2 separate regions of the Homo sapiens genome follow, and region 1 is linked to region 2. The links are contacts of gene promoters, found by promoter capture Hi-C in blood cells and fetal thymus (Javierre and others, 2016). All regions are on one chromosome and are shown on one strand. The core of a region is centred on a gene start or on the middle of the fragment in contact, and the rest is flanking DNA. Distances in the headings are between cores, read along the strand shown.

The links. Contacts are between HindIII fragments. The CHiCAGO score rates a contact against its expected background, and 5 or more counts as called.
Region 1: a contact is called between a fragment that was not itself captured here and the fragment with the promoter of BACH2 in region 2, in 1 of 17 cell types (megakaryocytes). The highest score is 5.9, in megakaryocytes.

Annotation. Positions count from the first base shown.
Region 1 is chr6:90,574,994-90,579,310 of GRCh38, forward strand. The region is part of intron 1 of MAP3K7 (mitogen-activated protein kinase kinase kinase 7); the gene reads right to left. Among named protein-coding and RNA genes, the nearest start is that of MAP3K7, 9.9 kb to the right of the region's middle. The HindIII fragment of the contact is 1,476 bases long and covers 1,498-2,973 here.
Region 2 is chr6:90,294,630-90,298,978 of GRCh38, forward strand. It overlaps BACH2 (BACH transcriptional regulator 2), which reads right to left and starts at 2,214. Exons shown (of 9, transcript NM_021813.4): 1 at 1,851-2,214. LOC105377891 (a long non-coding RNA gene) reads left to right here and starts at 2,610. Exons shown (of 7, transcript XR_942778.4): 1 at 2,610-3,107. It overlaps LOC124901361 (a long non-coding RNA gene), which reads right to left and starts at 577. Exons shown (of 2, transcript XR_007059676.1): 1 at 1-577. RefSeq lists enhancers at 520-609, 3,927-4,349 and silencers at 1,393-1,452, 2,078-2,127. The HindIII fragment of the contact is 2,083 bases long and covers 995-3,077 here.

The DNA.
Region 1 (4,317 bases), core at 986-3,485, 280 kb after region 2:
AGAAAGGTGAAGATGTCCAAGGTTGTACTGACCTGAAATACAGGATAGAAATAATAACTGCTGTGAATTCAAAGGAGTGAGATTATAAGCACAGTCAATACTTAAAGAATTAAGTTTGTGTGTATCAAAAATGACTTCCCATTTTTAAAAATAGCATAAAGGTAGATACACTGGGGATGAGAAGAAAAAATATATATAAAGAATGGACCCCTGCCTTCATGGAATGAAAGTGCGGTAGAGAAGAAATTTAAGACTAAATAATAGTACTTAAAAACTTTTAAACACTTACCAGCTGAAGAGAGCCAAAGGTAAGGGCTAATGATGAAGGCTAATAAACTCCTCCCTCCCCCTTTTCAGGATAGGGTTAGGGTAGGGATTCAACAGCAAAAAAGACTCATACCCTTCTCTTCTCACTTAGATCCCTAAGAGCAGGCATCCTCACAGCATGTGCTCTGCAAACACCAGAAGCTTCAAAGGAGTAAGGATTGTGGCAAGGAAGACAGACCAAGGGAGGCCCTAACCCGGGTTCCCTCAGCCCCAGTAGAACACGTAAGGGATAAAGAAAAGCTCTTGTGAAGCAAAAAGCAAGCTAACTGAGAAGTAAGGAGTCTTCTGATTGCAGGAAGGAGGCTGCGGTAGGGCAGAGTGTTGGGACCTACATTAGAGGTCTGTGGGATGGTAGCTAGCTCAAATACTTAATGAAGAACACAGCTGGGTTTCAGAGGATTAATGAAAGCCAAGGGGAAGGCCTGGTCAGCAAGCAGGGAGAACTGGGTTAGGTCTTCTGCCTTCAAAGGATGCAAGTGAGGCTTGATGTTGAAAGAATAATGAACTTCGTTTGTTTACTCCTTAAACCAATATTTCTTTAGTGTGTACTACATCCAGCTACTGTTTGGGACATCAGAAATACAGAAAGAAATAAGACAAAGGCTCTGATCTACACAAATGTACTTTCTAGCGTATGTGAAGGGAGGGGAGGAGAAAAGAAAATCGATATACAAACAAAAGATGAGTAAGAAAAAAATCAGACTTTAAAAAAATGCCACATAGAACAACGACAACAACAAAAAATAGGATGCTATGACCAAGAGACTAGTGGCAGCTCCAGGCTGGGCAGTTTGAAAAGGCCATATAAAGAGGTTACGAATCTGACATTTGGATGACACAAGGCACCAATCCCAGCACTTTGGGAGGCTGAGGCAGGCGGATCACGAGGTCAGGAGATTGAGACCATCCTGGCTAACACGGTGAAACCCCATCTCTACTAAAAATACAAAAAATTAACGGGGCGTGGTGGCAGGCACCTGTAATCCCAGCTACTGGGGAGGCTGAGGCAGGAGAATGGCGTGAACCTGAGAGGCCGAGGTTGCAGTGAGCCGAGATCGCGCCACTGAACTCCAGCCTGGGCAACAGAGCTAGACTCTGTCACACACACACACACACACACACACACACACACACACACACACACACACACAGAAGAAACAACTAATATAAAGCTTTGCCCTAAGGGAAAAGAAAAACCTCACTACCTTATTTACTCCAATATGTGAGCCCAATCTAAGGGCTATGCGCTATTTTAGGCACTGATGATACAAGAGTGAACAAACCAAATCAAAATCCTTGTTCTCATTGTTTATATTCTTGTGGAAAAAGACAAATAAAAAGGAAGGGAGTTGTGTGCTAAGAAGAAAAGGAGTATAATTGTGTGTGTATACACACATGTATGCACTCTGCCTCACTCCAATTTTAGACAAGGTAATCACTCAAGGCCTCACTGAGAAAGGTGACATTTTAGTGATGATTTAGAGAAATACTTGGGAGTGTTTGGTGTGGCTGGTGTATAGTGGAGGAAGGGAAGAGTGATTGTAAGGTAAGGCTGGAGGGACAGGCAGAGGTTGGATCCTGAACGGCTCTACCTACCATAAAAAGGAGTTTGAATTTCAGTCTAAGTGCAATGTGAAGGAACTGAAAAAATTCAAGGAAGTAAGGATGGTATGTGACATTAAACAAAATCATTATAGCTCTTAAAGAAAGGATTGTAGGGAAGCTAGGATATGTAAATAGAGACCCATTAGGAAGCCATTACAGCAGTCCAAACAAGCAACAATAGCTACGAGGGCAAGGTCAATGGTAGTGCAGAAACTGGGCAGATCTGGGAAATGTTTTAGAAGTAGAGTCAATAGGGTTTGCTGATGCTCTGCATCCAGGCAGGACAGGTGTAGAGGAAAAGAGCTGAATCAAGGAAAACACCTAGACTGGACAACAGTTTACTGAGGGATAAGAATGATGCAGATTTTTTTTTAATAACTCAGAGTTTGGTTTTAGTCATATGAAGTTTAAGATGCCTACTGGATATCCAAGAGGAGATATCAAGTAAGAAGGTAGAAACGTGAGTGAGAGGATCTATGGAGAAGTCAGACAAAGAGATACAAACTTGGGAGTCATTAGCATGTAGTCAGTTTTTCTAGTCAATCAGTTGGAAGAGGTAACCAAAAATAATATGGAGATAGTGGAGTAGAGGAACTGAGCTTTGAAGCAGTTCAACATTTAGATCACAAGAGAGGAGAAGGAATGGGCAAGGAACAGGAAGGAACAGTCAATATGGTAGCAGGCAAACTAGGAGAGAGTCAGAGAAGCCAAAAGAAAAAGACGTTCCAGAAGGAAAGCAGATATAAGGACAGTGAAAGCATATGCCAGTGGCTCTAAAAGTGTGGTCTCCGGTTCAGCAGTATCAACATCACCTGGATATTTATTAGAAATATAAATTCTCAGGGTGCAACCCAGAATTATAGAGTCTGACGGTAAGGCCAAGCAATCCATGTTTTACCAAGCCCTCCAGGTAGTTTCAATGTTTGAAAATCACTGCATTCAAGGCTAATCCATTAACAACAGATAATAAGGCAAGATATTTCAGTGGAAGCCATCACACAGACCAGAGAGCTCTCCCTTGCTGTTTATATTATTTGTGGAAGCTTTCCACAGCACCCATATGTCATCTTGGGCAGGAGAAAGGGAAAAGGAAAATCCTTATGGGGGAAGACTGAATTTTGAAATAACCGAATTAATCTTGAAATTTCTGAGTACAAAGATACATAAAAGAGGTAAGTATTACATGGAAATTATCCTTGTTGTGGCAAGATTAAATGCTTTTCTCTACTGAGTTGAAAAGAGGAATGACTCATAATTAAACAGTAGTTTATAGAAAAATAGTTACATTTCTTAACTTTTAAAAACAAGTAAGAAATACCGGCAGGAGGACAGGAGTTTGTTTTGTTTTGTTTTGTTTGTTTTTTTGAGACAGGGTCTCACTCTGTTGCCCATGCTGGAGTGCAGTGGCGCGATCTCAGCTCACTGCAGCCTCTGCCTCTCTGGCTGAAGTGATTCTCCTGCCTCAGCCACCCCAAAGTAGCTGGGATTACAGGCTTGTGCCACCACACCCAGCTAATTTTTGTATTTTTAGTAGAGTCGGGGTTTTGCCATCTTGTCCAGGCTGGTCTTGAACTCCTGAGCTCAGGCGATCTGCCTGGGTTGGCCTTCCAAAGTGCTGGGATTACAGGCGTGAACCACTGCACCTGGCCAGAGACAGGAGTTTTGTGCTTTAAACAAAAAAGAGTATAAGCATATATCCATAAGAGTAGAAGATAGAATAATCAGATGATATATACAATGGATAAAGTTGTTTCCTGGTATATTTTGCTCTCCTTCCCCCCATTCTGATATTAGCTCTCTAAGGGAGAAGTCTGAATGGGAATTAGAGGTGGCAGAAGGTGCTACGTAGCATAAAAAAAGCTTCCCAGGGCATTCCAATATACTTCTCATTCCTTTCTTCAAGAAATAACATTTTAAAGAAATGCAATTTTATTATCTGTATAACGATAATGCAACCTTATATTTAACAATATATTACAACTTGTAAAGCTCTTTCTTACAAATATGATGGAGTTTGAGTGTCACCATAAACCCATGAATATATAGGATTTTTTATTCCTACCTTAGAGAGAAGAAAACCAAGGCTCCAAGAACTGAAGTTACCTATTCAAGGATCATGTAATTAGTAAATCAGAGTCAGCTTTCAGGTATGTTTCATGGTGCCAACAAAACAGAGGCCTGCCAGGATTTGGTCCAGTGCCTGGTACAGAGAAAAATGCTACTCAAAGGCAGCAAGTATGATAACTAACAACAATTAACTTTTCAAAAGATTATATTCGAATCAGATTTTAGCTGTTTAGAAGGGGGTTTTAAAAAGCCCTAATCTCCTTTAAGAAAAGAGTGAAGTTGGGTTAATAGAAGGCTTGTGTATAAAGGGCTTATGGC
Region 2 (4,349 bases), core at 964-3,463:
TCATTTTGACTCACGTTTATTATTACCTGCAAGAATGAAAAACGCCGTTTACTCGGGAGGTGCCCGAGAACCAGGGTGGGGCGATCTCACATTTTAAGCAAGACGCCCGCTGCCTTACCAAAATAGCCCTCTCCGCCAAAGGAGGGGCAGCCTTTCACGCTCAGCTTCTTTCATGTCAGCCCGAGCCTTTGCAGCAAGACGTGCCTTTCCTACATGTTACATTTTAATGATCTGAGAAAACCGTTATCAGCGTTAACATCTCTAATTTTACTCTAAACAGACAAAAGCAAAATATCTCATTAGGCATCATCTCCGCCAAGGTTCCCACTAGGCAGGAAAGGATTTTTATCTAAAGTAATTACCCTTTTTAGTTAAATACACTCAACAGATGAAATTTACAGAGAGTGAGAGACTGCAGCACTAGACAGCGAAGGTGAAAACCAGGAACGCCGCGTCTCGCCGCCCGCGGGCCCGCCGGGAGACTGCGGGTCCGTCTCGCGGGTGGGGCGCCCCGGTCCCTCTCGTTTCCTGGAGGCCACAGGTCACGGCGACGGCGGTGACCGGGAGAGCAGGCTGCGAGGCGCGCCTCATCGGGCCACAGACAAACCACCCCGGCAGCGGCCGCGCCGGAACTTCCCTCAAGTTACCAAACTCGCCTACGCGCGGGAGAGTGCTGGGGATGCCCCATGCGCCCGCGACCCCAGAAGCCAGGAGTGTGCCACCCCTTCACACACTCACTCCCGGCCCTGCACGCTTCCCCTCACGGTCCGAGTTCCTGCAAATGCTTGGCCAGACCGAGGTCGCCGAGATGCTCGCTCCAGTCTCTCCCCTCGTGGGCACCTAGGGTAGCCCGTGAGCGCCGCCCGCCGCCGTCTCCAGCGGCGCCGGGCTCCCGAACACCCGCCGGGTGAGCGAAGCACAGCGGGGCCACGGAGCGCCTCGACGCGGGGACGGGGAGGGCAGTGTCCCCTTCATAAACCAGTCTCCTGGGTGAAGCTTCTGGGGCTTGGAGACTGGAGTGTAGGGTGTGTGTGTGTGTGTGTGTGTGTGTGTGTTGCACCTTGACTTCATGGAGGATCTGTGGGAGAGGAGGTGCAAGGTTTCCCTCTCAGAAGCCTGGCGCCCTTAGGTCTTAGCTACGCGGGACGCTTTCCGACAACCCGATCTTTCGCTAGGAGAGATTCGATCCAGGTCTGCGCCGCGAGGCCCCCAGCTCGCCTCTTCCTGCGACCCTAAACTTGGGCTTTGATTCCCCGCCGGTCGCGGTGGTCCGGGCCACCCGGCGGCGGCTGACAGCTGAGCGCAAAGGCGCCGCGGCCAAGGTCCTCGCGGAGCAGCCCGGGATGCGCACGCCGAGGGTTAAGGAGGAGGCCGCCCGGCCTGGAGCTGGGATCGCAGGCTGGGGGCCGGGACACCCGGGCCTCGCCGGGCCGGGGGCAGGGCCGCGGGTCTGACAGCTGCTGCGGCTCGCGCGGACGCGCGCCTCCTGCAGCCCGCCCTCCCCATGCCTGACTTATTACTCTCTGCTCCTCCTCCCTCTGCTGTTCCAAAACACCCTTCGACGCCAGCAAAATACAATGCGCCTCGGCCGCCGTAAACAGCCGGGAGGGAGAGCACACATTCGGCGCGGCGCGGCCGCCGGCTCGGCTCCCACCCCCTTCCCGTTCCTAGAAAATGCCATAAAAGCGGGCAGGGCGCGGGGAGGGCGGCTGCGCGCCCGGCGGCCGGGGCTCCCTTCCCGCGCCGTTTCCCCACGCCTCCCCGCCCGCCCCGCGCGCCCGCTCCCCCCGCAAACTTGCCCCGCCACCCCGCCCAGCGGCGGGGCCCGGGGCCCGGGGCCCGGGACTCACCTCGCCGGAGAACTTTGCGTCCTTTTCCGCCTCCTCTTCCCCGCGTCTTCCCGGCTCGCAGCCCCCTCCCGGCAGCCGGCGAGGTGGGCAGTTCGTGGGTCACCGAAAGCTCGCGGAGGGGACGCGCATCACATGGCAGCTCGTTCCCAGCCCCCCGAGTGCGCCGGGAAGGGGGAGGGGAAGGGGCGAGGGGAGGCCGGGGGGAAAGCGAGAGCGGGGCGGCGGCGGGAGTGGGCAGGCGGGGTGGCGAGGGCGGCGGCCGCTCACGTTAGCGCTGTGCGACCGCAGCCCGGGCGTGCACGGCCGCTGCTGCCGCTGCTGCTGCTGCTGCTGCTGCTGAGGCGGCGGCGGCTCGGCGCTGTTTGCTCCGCGCCGCGCGGCTTGCGCTCTCCCCGGAACGCCCACACTCTCAATCGCTACATTGTTGACATTCGGCGCTGACGTCACCCGCTCCCCATTCACAATAACTTTACGGGAGCCGGGCAGCGCACCTCCCCGGCCGCTGGGGCGCGGTACGCCCGGCGACTAGCGTAAGCCGCTCCGCGAATGGCGCTCCGGGGGCTGGGGCGGGGGGCGGGGGACGGGGGCGGGCGCGCGCGCTCCGCTGGCTCGCGGGAGGGGGCGCGCCTCATGCCGCCGCAGCAGCAGATCTCCCCGCTTTGTGCGGCCGCGCGGCCCGGAGAGCCCCCTCCTCCCGGCCCGGCTGACCGCCCCGCTCGGCCTGGCCTTCCCGGCCACGAAAGACGAGGGTTGGGGGCATAGCAGGGTGAGAGTAGTGGTGAGGGCTGGTGTGGCACGTGGGGAGGGGGCCAGAGCCCTAGGTGCTGCACCTGGGGAAGGAGAGCAGACGTCGGGACCGGGGATCCCAGGGTTAGCTAGCGTTTTCCCGGAAGGGCAAGAAAAGATGCTCCACTGGCCCCCACAAAGCTGACCGGACTCCCTTTTGGGTGGGGACCGGGCGAGTAAAAGCAGCCTTTTGAATGTTGACTTCTCAATCCTTTTCAGGAGGCCCTCCGCCTGCCCTACTGAGCGAACCTTTAAGCCCCCAAGCCAGTGTTTTTGGAAAGAGAGTGGTCAATTTCAGGAGGACATTAAAAGCCAACCTCCCGGGCTTCAGCCCCAGCTCCTACTGCCTTCCAGCCACTCTCCCCTGCCTTTCCTTTCTGCGGCTCTTAGGATGTTGTTGCTGCCCTTAAAGGCCGTCGTGTGAGTGCCCTGTCAGAAGAAAGCTTGGTGGTGGTTAGGATTTTACAGAAGGTAATTAGGATTTAGGCTGAATGTACATTTGCAATAAAATAAGGTTGTGTTAGTGTTGTGCTGGTGCCTGCAACTTTACCTCTTGCCAAGGCCAGAAAATTCTGCCACGTTTCCCTAAACACCTATAACTTGGCCCTCTTGTGTACAGGCAGTATTCCATATTATTACACGTGGTGCTGATTTTTAATGAATATTATAAAAGTTTGGCTCGCTCTACTGAGAGAAGGATCATAAATCCCCCCTGTAAAACGGGCACTGGCGTATGCTGAGGAAGCAGTGAAGCGTCCTGGGAGTCTTGTGATATCATCTAAAGTGTTGCTCTGAACTACCTTCATTTGAGGGCAGAGTTTTGAAAGGCCCCATTTGGAATGTCTGTGTGGAAAGCTAAGTGATGGCTGAAAGCAAGCTGAAGGTGCTGAGCTAATTTTTCTAACAGCACTGCAGAGTCCCTGCGTGGAGGTCTGGCACGGGACTGTGAGATTTTCTCTGCTAACCGACCCGGCCTTCAGATAAGGAAAAGTCCTAGAGCTAGGAGTAGCCCTCAGTCTCCTGACCTCTGGTCTGGTGCCCCCTAGGACAAAACACCCTGCTTCTGAGGTCCCTGCCTGACCCCTGGCAAGGACAGAGTACTAATTCCTGGTCTGCCCTGGCCAGGCCGTTTCTTATAGTTTTATGGATGGTTCTGTTTCTCATTCCTCATTCTTGTAAGTATGTGTTTGTGAGATAACTTTACGCATTTTAGTAGCAGCAATAAATGTTTTTCTCACAACAAGGGATGCTTGAGAGCATCCGTATGAGAGTGGTGTAGATTCATTTATTTTCAAGCAAGCGGTGGCTGCCCAGCTGTGAGTGGAGTTGGGCACATCAGCGTAGGGGTGGTTGAGGAGGGAAATGAGGCTGCCAGCTGATCTCCCACCTCCATTCTGGATTCTACAAGCTGATCTTGTCAGATGGATACAACAAAGGCTAACAGGTCATTTCAGTTAGTCTGCTTGCCCAAAGACTCAGACTGGAGCTTTTTCACTTTGAGATTTTCAAGCATGAGGTGGGACATTAAATAGAGATGAAAAAACCTAAAACACCTGTGATAGGTTGCATCATCCAGTCATTCAAGGAGGCTGAATTAGGAGTAGTTAGCCTCTCAGGTTACATCCAGCTCTGCAATCATGCACCTCTGGCTGTAAGACGAAATCTTTGCTTTGGATAAGCTTTGAAGTCTGGTAGTGAGTTCATTTTTCTACT